3 separate regions of the Homo sapiens genome follow, and all the other regions are linked to region 3. The links are contacts of gene promoters, found by promoter capture Hi-C in blood cells and fetal thymus (Javierre and others, 2016). All regions are on one chromosome and are shown on one strand. Each heading gives the region's core, a stretch centred on a gene start or on the middle of the fragment in contact. The rest is flanking DNA. Distances are from core to core; before and after follow the strand shown.

Region 1 (4,269 bases), core at 1,254-3,753, 240 kb after region 3:
GTTTGTCAGCCCTGAGGTGTTTCTGAAGCTGATCTTATCGACGCTGAAGAAGACGCCCTCTGCCTCCGGCCTCCTGGTGCTGGCCTCCGCCATGCGGGGTTGCCCCCGAGAAGCCCTCCAGCCGCACCTGGCAGCCATCGCCACAGAGCTGGCACAGGCCCACATCTGCCAGGCATCTGAAAACGTAAGAGCACTTGGGAGATGCGGGAGTGGAGAGGAGGAGCCTCCCCTGCCCGGCCGTCAGCCATCGTAATGACATGTCTGTGGGTTGCCCTGTGCCGCCAGGCTGGGCTGTCGGAAGCACCCAGCGACGTGTCTGTGGGTCCGCCCCGTGCCGCCAGGCCGGGCCATCGGAAACACCTGCAGTAACCGGAGTGCCCTCGCTGATAGCCCTTGTTCCGGGGCCTCGTCCTGGGCTGTGCAGAGCTCCAGCCCCAGCCCCAGCCCCAGCTGCAGGCGGCCGCTCACGTTTACATTCGTTGCTGCCCCTTTCTTGGCCACACACCACAGTTCACGTGTTTGATGACTCAGGAGGCGTCCATGGCCGGGACCCTCTGGCCCATGCTGCTGGGGGTAGATGTGGGGTCCACGTCATCCCACCCCTGAGGAGCGTGGTCGCACGTCCACCATCCCATCCAGTCCCCAGGGTACCTGCACAGATCGCACGTCCTCAGGGGGCACTGACAGCCTGTTCCCCATCAGCCCTGCCTGGCGTTCCGATCTGTGCTTCTCACAGCCCAGCTGAGGATTTGCCAGAGACATTTGTTTAATTTTAAATTGAGCAGCAAATCCTTGAGCTCAGAAGCTGGAACAGCCTGGGTAGTTGGGCTCAATTGTTTGGAATAATCCATAGTTGTATTCCATGGAAGAAGAGGTGATGGCTTTGCTTTCATTTGAAGGTGAGTGGTCCCTGTCAGTGTGTGTGTTGGACTCAGCACCCCAGATATTTCTGGGACACAGGGCTGCCCCCACCAGGCGGCCGTGCCATGCAGGGCGGGCCTCAGCTCACCCCTGGAGGCACTTGCTCCGGCTCGATCGTTTCCGGCGGCTTCTATGGCCCCAAAGCTGGCCTGGGGCACGGGGACTTGCCACTGTGCTCTCAGCCCGGCCTGTCCTGTGTCAGGCTCCCTCTCCGTCCTCAGAACGAGAGGTGGGGCTGTTGACAGTCATTTTTGTAAACTGTTTTAAGAAACCTGTAAGCAGTTCCTGGAATACATAGAGGGAAGGAAACGGAGCTGGGGTAAGGAAGGGAGCGGGGGAGGGGCCCGGGCCGCGTGCTCATGGCATTTCAGCCATGCTTCAGCTTTTCCCAAAACCCGTTTTTAACACATCATCGAATGTGTGTCAGTTCTCCACTTTCCTTCACCCACGAGGGGTTATGAGGATGCCTTTGATTTCTGTATACAGATTTGCAAGCCAGAAGCATTTTTTCCTAGAAGGGCATAACTTGAAAATGTGCACAGGTGCCTAAATCCTTATCTCACAAACTTTATAGCAAAGAAAGTGTAGTTTTCACATCTCCATGTTGGTTACAGGAAAACGGAATTGTGTCATCCCACAGTTGTGCATTTGGCTCCCCATCTTCCAGTTTTATCGAGGAAAAATTTAATCACAATCTTTCAAACAGAGACGTCTTTCTGACAAAGTCCAGTCACACGGGACCCCTGGGAAGCCAGCCTCAACCTTCCAGGCTGCGAACGTGTGTCGGCCCTTTGGCCAAGGAGCCAGTCACAGTGAAAACCCAAGACGTACATTTCACTCCTTTCTTGTTTTTATTTTTTTGTTTTAGGTTGATCCTCCCACCTCAGCCTCCTGAGTCACTGGGACTACAGGTGTGCACCACCACACCTGGGTAATTTTTTTTTATTTATTTTTATTTATTTACTTTTTGGGACAGAGTCTTGCTCTGTCACCCAGGCTAGAATGCAGTGGCGCAATCTTGGCTCACTGCAGCCTCCGCCTCCCAGGTTCAAGCGATTCTCCTGCCTCAGCCTCCCAAGTAGCTGGGATTACAGGCATGCACCACCACACCCGGCTAATTTTTGTGTTTTTAGTAGAGACGGGGTTTCTCCATGTTGGCCAGGCTGGTCTTGAACTCCTGACTTCAAGTGATCAGCCCACCTCGGCCTCCCAAAGTGCTGGGATTACAGGTGTGAGCCACCGCACCTGGCCCCATTTTACTCCTTAACAGACTTAAATTTTTGGCAAGAAAGGGTGAAGGTACTCAGGTCTCAGTCAGAATCAGGCCCGTGGTTCTGTGCTCTTCCCACGCCCCTGTGCTCTTCCCGCGGCCGGCCGGGCTTTGTGTCATGTCATTTGGGAAGTCGATTATGTTTCCCACAGCTATTCTCCAGTAGCTATGAGAACAGGTTGAAAATGTCTTTCAAGAACAAACCGAAATTGTTTTAAAAGCTCGTGTTTAAACAGAGAAGTCCGTGTAAATGTATTCTAAACTGAGCCTGGCTTCACTCCCTGCCCTGGGGTTCACAGGAAATCTGGCTTTAGCAGTAGGTACTTCCAGGTGTCTCGGGCCCAGTAGGTCCCCTAGAGCTCGACAGACGGGAACTGGAGTCTCCTGGGAAGGAGTTTAGGACAGGTGTCTAGAGTGAGGAAATGGGTAACTCACCGATTTGCTTCTCACACAGGGAAGCCAGCAGTTGTGGGATGCCATTGCCATTGTTGAAATAGGAGTCTCTTGTGCTTTTCTGAATTAAAAACCTTTGCAGTCTTAGATAACATTGTTTCAGAAAACAATGTTTGAAATAGTATTTCAAAAAATACTGAGAATTATTTCCTGCTGTATCTTTTTTCTTTTTCGTTCTGTGTGTGTGCGTTGTATGTAGGCAGACACTGAAAATTGTCTGGTCAAATATAGAGAAATCTATAAATGTGAAGTCTTGTCACTTCCTCAGAGACGGTGCTGCGTTCGTGGCAGGAGGGTGGTGCTTGCTGCAAAGGATGCCTGATTCCCTGTTTGTTCCTGTGCTTGGAGGTGTGGTCAGCCAGGAGGGGCTGTGTCTTCTAAACGCACCTGCCTTTTGATTTTAACCGAAAAGATGATCGCTCCTGAAATGTACATGACAGGTCATTCTAGAAACTAGCCAGATATTGTCCTCAGAAGTCAGCCAGTTAGTACAGGCCTTAGAGAAATTGGGCTGTGGGAAAAATCAGGAATGGAATAAAAACAAATCTGTGGCTTCTGTGGGAGTTGGGGCCACGACAGGGCCACACGGCTCCTCCAGCTCCGAGGGAGACGGGGCCGCGCGGCTCCTCCAGCTCTGAGGGAGACGGGGCCGCGCGGCTCCTCCAGCTCCGAGGGAGATGGAGCCATGCAGCTCTGTGTCTTCTGTGGGTCAGGGCGGGGCCGGGGTGCAAGGACAGAACGCTGCTGTAGTACAGTGGGAGTGTTTTGTTTAGTCTTCCATGATTTACGTCAGTGGGGAATGAGGCTTAGAGTTTTAGAGCTGATTAGGAAATTTAGAACCAACCCATTGTCTAGCCAAATAATTACCAAACTTCTTTGAACTTGCACCCCCATTAGTAAAAACAGTTTTTAAGCATAGGCCTCCAATATATGTACACTGTTGATAAATCACGTGTTTAAATTACATGGCCACGGTCCTGACTCACTCTGTACTTTATGAAACATACATAAAATAGACATTAGAGGGACGTTATAAGAAGTAAATACAGGCCAGGCGTGGTGGTTCTTATCTATGATCCCAGCACTTTGAGAGGCCACGGCAGGAGGATCACTTAAGGCTAGGAGTTTGAGACTGCAGTTAGCCACGATTGCACCACTGCACTCCAGCCTGGGCGACAGAGCAAGACCCTGTCTCTAAAAAATAAGTTAAAATTTATTTAGAAAGAAGTAAGCACACGCAAAGCCTTAGGAATTCTTGGGTCCAGCACACGCCTGCTGTGTTGCGGGCTTCAGAGCCTGGCTGATTCACAGTGGATGAGGCTGGAGCCGGGAGGGGAAGCCATTCATCCAGCGCAGCCGTAGGTGCAGAGCTGAGACTCCACCTCCCCGTCAATCAGTAAACATGTTAAGCCATAGAATTTTATTTGTCTTAAAACTTGGTGTTATAGAAAAGCTCAAAAATGCACAGAAGAGGGGCAGGCAGCAGAGCGACTGCCAGCTTCAGCGCTGACCAGCCCTTGGCATGCGTGTTCTGCCTGCCTGGGGCCACTTTTCTTTTTAACTTTGGAGGGCGGGGAGAACTTGGGCATGTTGTAAAGCAGATAATGCAGTGCGCCGTCATTTCC
Region 2 (4,057 bases), core at 1,075-3,574, 210 kb before region 3:
TGACCCAACCCCTTGCAGGCGCGGACCTCCCGCACACCCTGTGTCCTGCGCCCTCCAGCCCGGGCCTCTGCCCTCTCTGTCCCGGCCCTGGGCACCCTCTGGCCAGGTGGCTCCCAGCCCCAGGGAGGGGCTCCAAACAGAGCTAAGTTCCTGCCCAGGGCAGCCTTGCTGCTTCCTACGGCCGGAATCCCAGCCCAGGGTCTCAGGCGTCGGGACGCAGGGGGCTCCAAGCTTCACATGTGTGAGGGCTGCAGACAAGGACGCTTTATGAGATGAGATTGCACGCAGACATGTGTGTGAGAGAGAAATGTGTCAAATTACTCAAAGTAAACATTAAAAATTTTAAATAACAATTTAAAAAGGTATAGTTATGTTTGGCCAGTCCTCCCATTTTTGAAAATAATCCCTTCTCCCGCCTTTTTTTTTTTTTTTTTTAAGACAAGGTCTCACTTCATTGCCCGGGCTGGAGTACGTACAGTGGCGTGATCACCGCTCACTGCAGCGTCAACCTCCTGGACTCAGGTGATCCTCCCACCTCAGCCTCCCAAGTAGGTGCCACCACGCCCAGCTAATTTTGTGTGCGGGTGTATACACACTATATATCTAATATTTATCATATATTAGAGACGGGGTTTTCCTATGTTGCCCAGGCTGTTCTCAAATCCCTGGGCTCAAGTGATCCACCCACCTTGGCCTCACAAAGTGCTGAGATTACAAGCCACCATGCCCAGCCAGTTCTTTATTTTTTTAACATTCCTGTGACGGCAGTAGATACAAGTGGCCTTGTTCCCTCTCTGCCTGGAGAGACCCTGACCACACTCCCCCACCCAGAACTGGGCACCCTCAGCTCCCCCACCCAGAACCGGGCACCCTCAGCTCCCCCAGCCAAGCCTGCTTTCCTCGCTGCTTCTCTGTCAGCCTCCGGAGCTGCTCTCTGCCTTGTTCTTCGTCTGCTAAAAAACAAAATGTTAGCTCCTGTGCTTAGGGAGGGCATCTTTCCCCCTCTCAGCTCAGCTAACCCCTATTTGTGCCCCGAGATGCAGCTCCCAGGCTGCCTCCTCCAGGAAGTCTTTCCTGACTGCCCCTCCTCTCCAGGTGGGGTTGGAGACACCTGCCCCAGTATTTCTGACTTCCAAGCACCAATTTCCGTCTATTTTGATCACAGCACCTCCTAGAAGGGCCCTGATGTTCATGAGGAAGGATTCCAATCTTCCCTTTATTCCTTTTGGTGCAGAGCCCACCAGGCACCGGGACCCTGCCTGCCTGGCCTCCACCTCACCTGCCATGTGGACCCTGATCTGTCACCAATGGCTTGAAACTTCAGAGACTCAGATTGTGCTTCACCCAAAAGCAACACTGATGATGACAATGGCTTGCACTGTATGGAGCTAACCACGTGTGGACGCTGCTTTACTTTACCTATATTTACTCATTTAATCATCACAGCAACCCTCTATGATAGGCACCACATCATCCCATTTTACAGATGAGAAAACCAAGGCACAGAAAAGTTAAGTTACTTGCTTGAGGTCACATAGCCAGCAAAGTGGTGAGGCGAGCATTTGAACACAGGCAGCCTGGGTCCAGGGTCCACACTTTTAGGCTTTTCTTCCCACAGGGTGGCAGATTTAATTTTTAAAAAAGATACCAGTACCATGTGAAAAGCCTTGGCTGAGGCCGAGCAGCTCAGCGAAGTTACTGCTGACACAGGTAATCAGAAAGGCTCATCCAAGGTCAAGAATGTTAGACAGAAATATGGAAATGCAGCCAGGGAAACCAGGACGGTAAACTTTGGGATAAATGCAGGTGTATATTAATTGTACAAAGCAACAATTATTAGGTCTTGTGGAGTTAAAATATGCAAAGAAATAAAATGCAAGAAGACCACAATGCAAAATGAGGAGGGTGTAGAATTCAAAGCTTCTAAGATTATAGCAACATAAATACAGCTGTTATTAGTAATGGTAATAATTGGATTAGACCATAATAAGTCAAGAATACATTTTATAATTGCTAGGGCAAACCTTATAAAAGAGGTAGTAAAATAATATACAACTCACAAATAATGGAAGAAAAATGTTAACCCATTCAAAGAAAGTTAAGAAAGGAAGAAAAAAGGAAACAAAAAACTAATGGACAAAAAAGAAAACAAAACAGTAAGAGGGTAGATCTAAATCCCATTAAATGTAAATGGATAAAAAACCCACTGATGGTCAGACTAGATCAAGAAAAAATCAACTGTATGTTGCTTACAGGAGACACATTTTAACTGTAAGGACACAGAAAGGTTAAAAGTAAAAAAACTATATAGCACGAGGACACTAACCAACAGAAGGTTGGTGTAGCTATATTAACAGACGAAACAGACACTAGTGCAGTGGCTCACGCCTGTAATCCCAGCACTTTGGGAGGCTGAGATGGGTGGATCACCTGAAGTCAGGAGTTCAACACCAGCCTGGCCAAATACTGAAACCCTGTCTCTACTAAAAACACAAAAATCAGCTGGGCATAGTGGTGGGCACCTGTAATCCTAGCTACTTGGGAGGCTGAGGCAGGAGAATCGTTTGAATCTGGGAGGTGGAGGTTGCAGTGAGCTGAGATCAGGCCACTGCACGCCAGCCTGGGTGACAGAGTGAGACTCTGTCTCAAAAAAATAAAAAAACAGATAGTAAAGTTAAAAACTTTTCTATAGATAAAGAGTGACATTTCATAATGGTAAGATCTAACAACAAGCTTAACCACATGTCATATACACAGGCCAGTACTCCAGAACATGGAGTCACCATCCTCCCAAATTCACATGAAACATTTGCTAAATTGATCGTACGTTGGGCCATTAAGAAGCCTCAACAAATTTTAACAGATTGTAAAGTATGTTCTCTGAATACAATAAAATTAATCTAAAACTTGATTAAATATAACTAGAAAAACTCCAGCTGCCTGAAAATTAAACAACACATTCCTAAATAGTCCATGATTCAAAGAGGAAATCAAAATGGAAATGATAAAATATTTTGTGGCCGGGTGCAGTGGCTCACGCCTGTAATCCCAGCACTTTGGGAGGCCGAGGTGGGTGGATCACCTGAGGTTGAGAGTTTGAGACCAGCCTGACCAACATGGAGAACCCTATCTCTACTAAAAATACAAATTAGCCAGGCGTGGTGGTGCATGGCTGTAATCCCAGCACTTTGGGAGGCCGAGGTGGGTGGATCACCTGAGGTTGAGAGTTTGAGACCAGCCTGACCAACATGAAGAACCTCATCTCTATTAAAAATACAAATTAGCCGGGTGTGGTGGTGCATGCCTGTAATCCCAGCTTCTCGGGAGGCTGAGGCAGGAGAATTGCTTGAACCTAGGAGGCGGAGGTTGCGGTGAGCCGAGATCACACCATTGCACTCCAGCCTGGTTGACAGAGTGAGACTCTGTCTTAAAAAACAAACAAAAAAAATAGTTCTAAAAGGTAATGAAGATGCACCCAGCCAAACTGTGGGATGCGGCCTAGGCAGCCCTTCGGAGGAGACTTACACCCTTCACGGAACGCAGTAAAAAGAAGAAAGGCAGAAAGATCAACAGTGTAAGGGTCCCTCTTCATCAGAAAAAGAGCAATGAACCAAACCTATGAATAAAAATACTAGAGATGAGAACAGAAAAACAACAAAATATGAAACAAAAGTACAATGGGGAGGCTCAACAAAGATTTTTGAAGATCAATAAAATTCACCGAGGTGTGAGAACCGAAAGCCCGGGCTTCGGGTGGGGATTTCGGCTTCCGCGTGGCCCTGGGTGAAAGTGCAGCCGTGGGATCTTGGTGGAGAGAAACGCTGGGCAGGGAAGAGGGTGGGACAGAAACACGGAAATGCGGGGCCCAGGCCCTGGGGCTGTTTCCACACAAACTGGGTCCCCAAGCCCTTCAATTCATCAAAAGAACCCAAGTCCTCAAGGACAAAGGGAATGTGGACAGCAGTGGCTGGAAAAACCAACTGAGAGCTCAGATGAGAAAGGGGCCATGACGGCTGTCCTCGCATCCCTCCTGAAGGTGCCACAGCCATCGTCTCTG
Region 3 (4,189 bases), core at 600-3,099:
ACACGCACGCGCGCGCAGACACACACACGCGCACACACATCTCACTCACACACTCGCCCCACCCCGGGCTCCGGCCCAGCCGCGGCCCTAGCGCCGACTAAGACGCCCAAATCCAGCCGGCGGCCGGGAGAAGAAGCCTCCAGGGAAAGCGAGGGTTAAACTTCCACCTCGCGCAGCTCTCCGTGCCCTGCGGAGACCACCCTCACCTCTGGCCTCCCCCACTCCCCTCCCCGATTTTTAAGGAGAGTCGGGGGTCGCTGGGGAGCCTGAAGCACTAAGTTCCCACGACGGGGGCTGTGGAAAGTCATTCATCACAGCAAAGCTCCCGGGGATGGGGATGGGGATGGGGATGGGGGGGCGGGGACGCCGCGGTGGGAGGGTGCGGACGCCTGGCCCAGCCCCAGCTCGCCTCGCTCAGCCACCTGTAAGCAGGCCCGGGCGGGCGGGACTGCGCCGGCCCTGAGCCCCGCCGGGCTTGGGGACTGGGAACCGAGGGCTGCAGCTTGGCGCTGCCCACCCTGCCCGGCCAGGGGCTTCCGCAGCAGCCGCCCCTACCTATTTATCCGCCGCCCTTCTCTCCTCCCCAGGCTCCGCCGGCTCACACACACCCCCTTCCCCGCTCCCCGCACCCCGCTGCTGCAGCGCCCGCTGCGCCCCAGCTCCCCTTCCCCGGAGAGGACACTGCGCCCCCCGAAGTTTCTGCCCACTCGTCCACCTCGCTGCTCCCCGGTCCCCCCGAGGCAGAGCGACCGACGCAACACGCTGGAAACTCCCCACACACACTTAGGCATGGCAGAAAATAGAACCCAGTTGGGAAAATCTAAACATCGACCACCCTGGCAGGAACCAAAACGCTCTCTGCAGAGCCCGTGGCGCCCCAGCCGGCGGGGGGTGTGCGCCGGAGGAGCCGGCGCAGGGACGGGGCGCGGGGGCGGCACCAACCTCGGCCAGAACATGGGCGAGGTATCCGCAGCCGAGGAGCAGCAGGCAAGCCAAGGTCCTCATCGCGTCCCGAGGCGCTGGCTGCTCGGAGGAGAGGCGAGGCCGCGGGGCGGGCGCTCCAGCCGGTCTCCTGTGGCGGCGAAATTCAGTACCATCCCTTAGGGAGCGCGGCCCGGAGGAGGGTGGCGCGGGGAGCACGGAGCTGGCGGAGCGCGCCCGGCGCGAGCAGTGAGTGCGGAGAGGCAGGCAGCGCCAGCCAGGAGGAGGAGAAACAGGGAGTGCGCGCCCGCAGCGCGGGGAGCCTCCTGGGCCGCCGGGTAGGGGGTGGGGACGGAAGGGGCGGAGGGCGGGGGCTGGGCTTCTTCCTCGGTGCGTTCCCGGTGCTGGCCGCCGCCGCGCTCGCTCCCCGCGCTGGCTTCAGGAGCGACCCGGCCGGTAATTCTGCATATTTGCGGACATCAGCCCCAAGAAGAACTCCGGAGGGAGTCTGGGGCCGCCGCCGCCGCCGCCGCCACACCGATCACCTGCCTGGACGCCTGGCCCGGCCCCGGCTGCGAGCTGCGAGCCGCCCTGCGCGCCCACCGCCGGCCCCGCGCTCGCCTCCGGCCTCCTCTTGCAGCCGCCGCCCGGCCGGGCACAGCGCGGCCCAGCACCCCCTCCGCGGCGCGCCCTCGGCTCCGGCGCCGCGCTCCGCCCTCCGCTCGCCGGGGCCGGGCAGCGCCCGCGGCCGAGCCGCCTGGCAGCCACCACCCGCCGCCCGGGGCCTCGCTGCGCCGCCCGCGCGGGCCTGAGGGCGGGCGCAAGGCCGAGTCGGCGCCTCCGCCGCAGCCGCCGCCGGGAGAGGAGGAGGAGGAGTAGGCGCAGGCCCGGCTCGCCGGAGTTGGGCGGGCTCCGCAGGGCGCGCGTGTGGAGCCGGCCGGCGGCGGGGAGAGGGTTATAGCGCCGCCGCCGCGCCCCTCCCCCGCCCCCGCCCCCGCCCCCCCCCCCCGCCTCCCCCGGATTCCGGGCCTGGGACCCGCACCTCGGAAGCGCTCGGGGTTCGTGCGGACCCGGCAGGGCCCGGGCGCCGCCGCCGCGGCAGGGAGCACACACGCGCTCGCGCAAGCAGCTAAATCCATCAAAGCCCCGCGCCCGGCTCCGCGCCGGGGCTCCGCGCCCCTCCCTCGAGCTTGCCCACCCTCCAGTGCCAGCTGCAATCCTGCGGCACCGGGTGGGGAGGGAGGAGGCCGCCGCAGAAGCGCCGCCGTCGCCGGCTCGCCTCTCTCGGGCCCCAGCGGCGGCAGCGGGCAGCGCCCAGAGCTGCTGCGCCAAAAAGGGCCAGAGAGCCGGTCCCCGCCCCCGCCCCGGCGCTCCGGCCGCTCTCCACGGTTCGGATCCAGGGCCCCAGCCTTCCTCTCTCCATAAAAGGAGGGGGAGTCAGTCTTTGGGGAAGGAGGGGGGCGGGTTTGGGGCACTCACCTGGCGGCTGCCACGCGCCCCCGCCCAGGATCCGAGGCCTGGGGCATCTGAATGAGGACCCTCCACCCACATTTCCACTTGGGAGCGAGCTCCAGTCGGGGAAAGGGCCTGCAGCCCGCCTCGTCCCCACCCTGGGACCCCGCGCCCCCCAGTCCCCCACTCCCGCGCCGAAGGCAGGGCCGCGCCCTGAGCCGGGAAGTCGAGGGGATGGAAGGGAAAGGAGCCACCGGTGAGGGTCCCCCGGGTTCTGAGCCTCCCGCGTCGGGATCCGTGGGGCGCACAGAGCGCCACCTCCGGCCGAGGCGCAGCTCAGAGCGCGATGCGGGGGAGGAACGCGCGCGGAGGCCGAGGTCTGAGCGTGGCTAGACGGCTCCCACGCCGAGAAAGGGCGGGTGCGCCTGGGCTGGATGGATTTCGCCTCCCTAGACCAGGAGGGATTGGACCCTGACTACAGGTCCAGGTGCTCGTCAGTGCCCTGCCAGGGGGTCTACGCGTCCTGGTACCGGGTCCAGCGGGGTGGCGTGCTGTGCAGACCCCGAGGCTAGACGGCCTAGGCCCCTGGAGCCCAGGAGACGCTTCCTTGGGTGAGCAGCGGAGAATCCCGCCCGGCCCAGCCGTCACCCCCAACCCTGTCGATTAAACCCCTGCCCCCGTCGCGGTCGCCCTCCCTCCAGACAAAGGCCGTTAAGGCGCAGCCCCGCGGGCGGTCTTTCATCCCCAGCTAGGCCAGCTCTAGCATTTCAAAGGCCGAATCCGGAGAGCGCTTCGGGGGCTCTCCCCTTCCCCCAAATATTTGGGGAGCGACGCCTCTCCCTCCGCTCCCAGTGGGTCGCGTCTACACGCGCCCTTCCACACACCTGCAGGCCCCCTCCCCACGTCTCTCCCTTCCGTTGGCCGCAGCCCCACACCACGACCCCCGCGGTCAAGCATGCCCTCTGGGTGGTCAGGACCAAGCGGGACCGGGACAGAACCAGGGGAGCCTTGGAAACGTGGAGGAGCCCCTTAAAGCCAGGCCTTGTCCCTCCAGGGGGAACTTGCGGCTTGGGAGGGGACACCCACTGCATGGCTTCTGGAAAGAGCCGGACTCGCAGGGCCAGGACGCAGGCCGGACCCCGGCCTCATTCTTCGGCCAGTTATCCCGGAGTGGCGCGCATCCTGTCTTCCTGGGCCTCGGACTGCTCGCGCGCAGAGGGGGCCCGAGGACACCTCTGTGGGGTTAGAGGACTCGGTAAGACGGTGTGGAAGGCAAGGAGGAAGGTCGCGTTGTATTGGGGATGGGGTACCCGTCCCTCCCAGCTTGAGGGATCCTGGGGGTCCTCGCCGCCTCTGAGGGCCTAGATGGCTGCTTCCCTCGGCTCCCCTGCCCGGCCTGGAGCTACGGGTGCGCCCAGCTAGAGTTTAGGGCCACCTGGGGACGTGCAAGGGGCGCTGGAGCGAGGCGGGGGCTGGGGCGGGGCGTGGGTGCTTCACCCGCGGGGGACGCAGAGCTTAGGCGAAAGCGGTGCAGGCATCTCTCTAATCGCCGGCCGCTATTAAAAATAAAACCGCGACCCGTCGCCATGGCGACCACAACAACAGCGGCCGCGCGAGGGAGGCGAAAACTTGTGCAGCCGCGCGACAGCCGCCTTCTGGGGAGACTCGGGGCACGACGCACCCGGCGTGGGACTGGGACCCCCCTGCCCGGCCCCGCCACATTCTCCGCCGGATCCCCGGAAGACACAAGGAGACGTGGACCCCCACAGGCTTTTTTGGGGGGATTGGGCGTTGAAACCGCAGGGCTGACTTAACC

What was found. The method cuts DNA at HindIII sites, captures the fragments that hold promoters and counts their contacts. A CHiCAGO score of 5 or more calls a contact.
Region 1: a contact is called between a fragment that was not itself captured here and the fragment with the promoter of PDGFA in region 3, in 2 of 17 cell types (activated CD4 T cells and naive CD8 T cells). The highest score is 6.4, in activated CD4 T cells.
Region 2: a fragment that was not itself captured here is called in contact with the fragment with the promoter of PDGFA in region 3 in 1 of 17 cell types (activated CD4 T cells); the score reaches 5.5 in activated CD4 T cells.

What each region holds. Positions count from the first base shown.
Region 1 is chr7:756,811-761,079 of GRCh38, forward strand. DNAAF5 (dynein axonemal assembly factor 5) reads left to right here. Exons shown (of 13, transcript NM_017802.4): 6 at 1-184. Among named protein-coding and RNA genes, the nearest start is that of PRKAR1B, 32 kb to the left of the region's middle. The HindIII fragment of the contact is 7,680 bases long and covers 1-4,269 here.
Region 2 is chr7:305,973-310,029 of GRCh38, forward strand. No RefSeq gene overlaps it. Among named protein-coding and RNA genes, the nearest start is that of FOXL3-OT1, 17 kb to the left of the region's middle. The HindIII fragment of the contact is 813 bases long and covers 1,919-2,731 here.
Region 3 is chr7:517,997-522,185 of GRCh38, forward strand. It overlaps PDGFA (platelet derived growth factor subunit A), which reads right to left and starts at 1,850. Exons shown (of 6, transcript NM_033023.5): 1 at 943-1,850. The coding sequence starts at 1,005. It overlaps PDGFA-DT (PDGFA divergent transcript), which reads left to right and starts at 2,395. Exons shown (of 3, transcript NR_033963.1): 1 at 2,395-4,189. RefSeq lists enhancers at 642-1,563, 3,408-4,189 and silencers at 820-909, 1,370-1,509, 1,790-1,879, 1,980-2,319, 3,985-4,064 and 1 more. The HindIII fragment of the contact is 35,865 bases long and covers 1-4,189 here.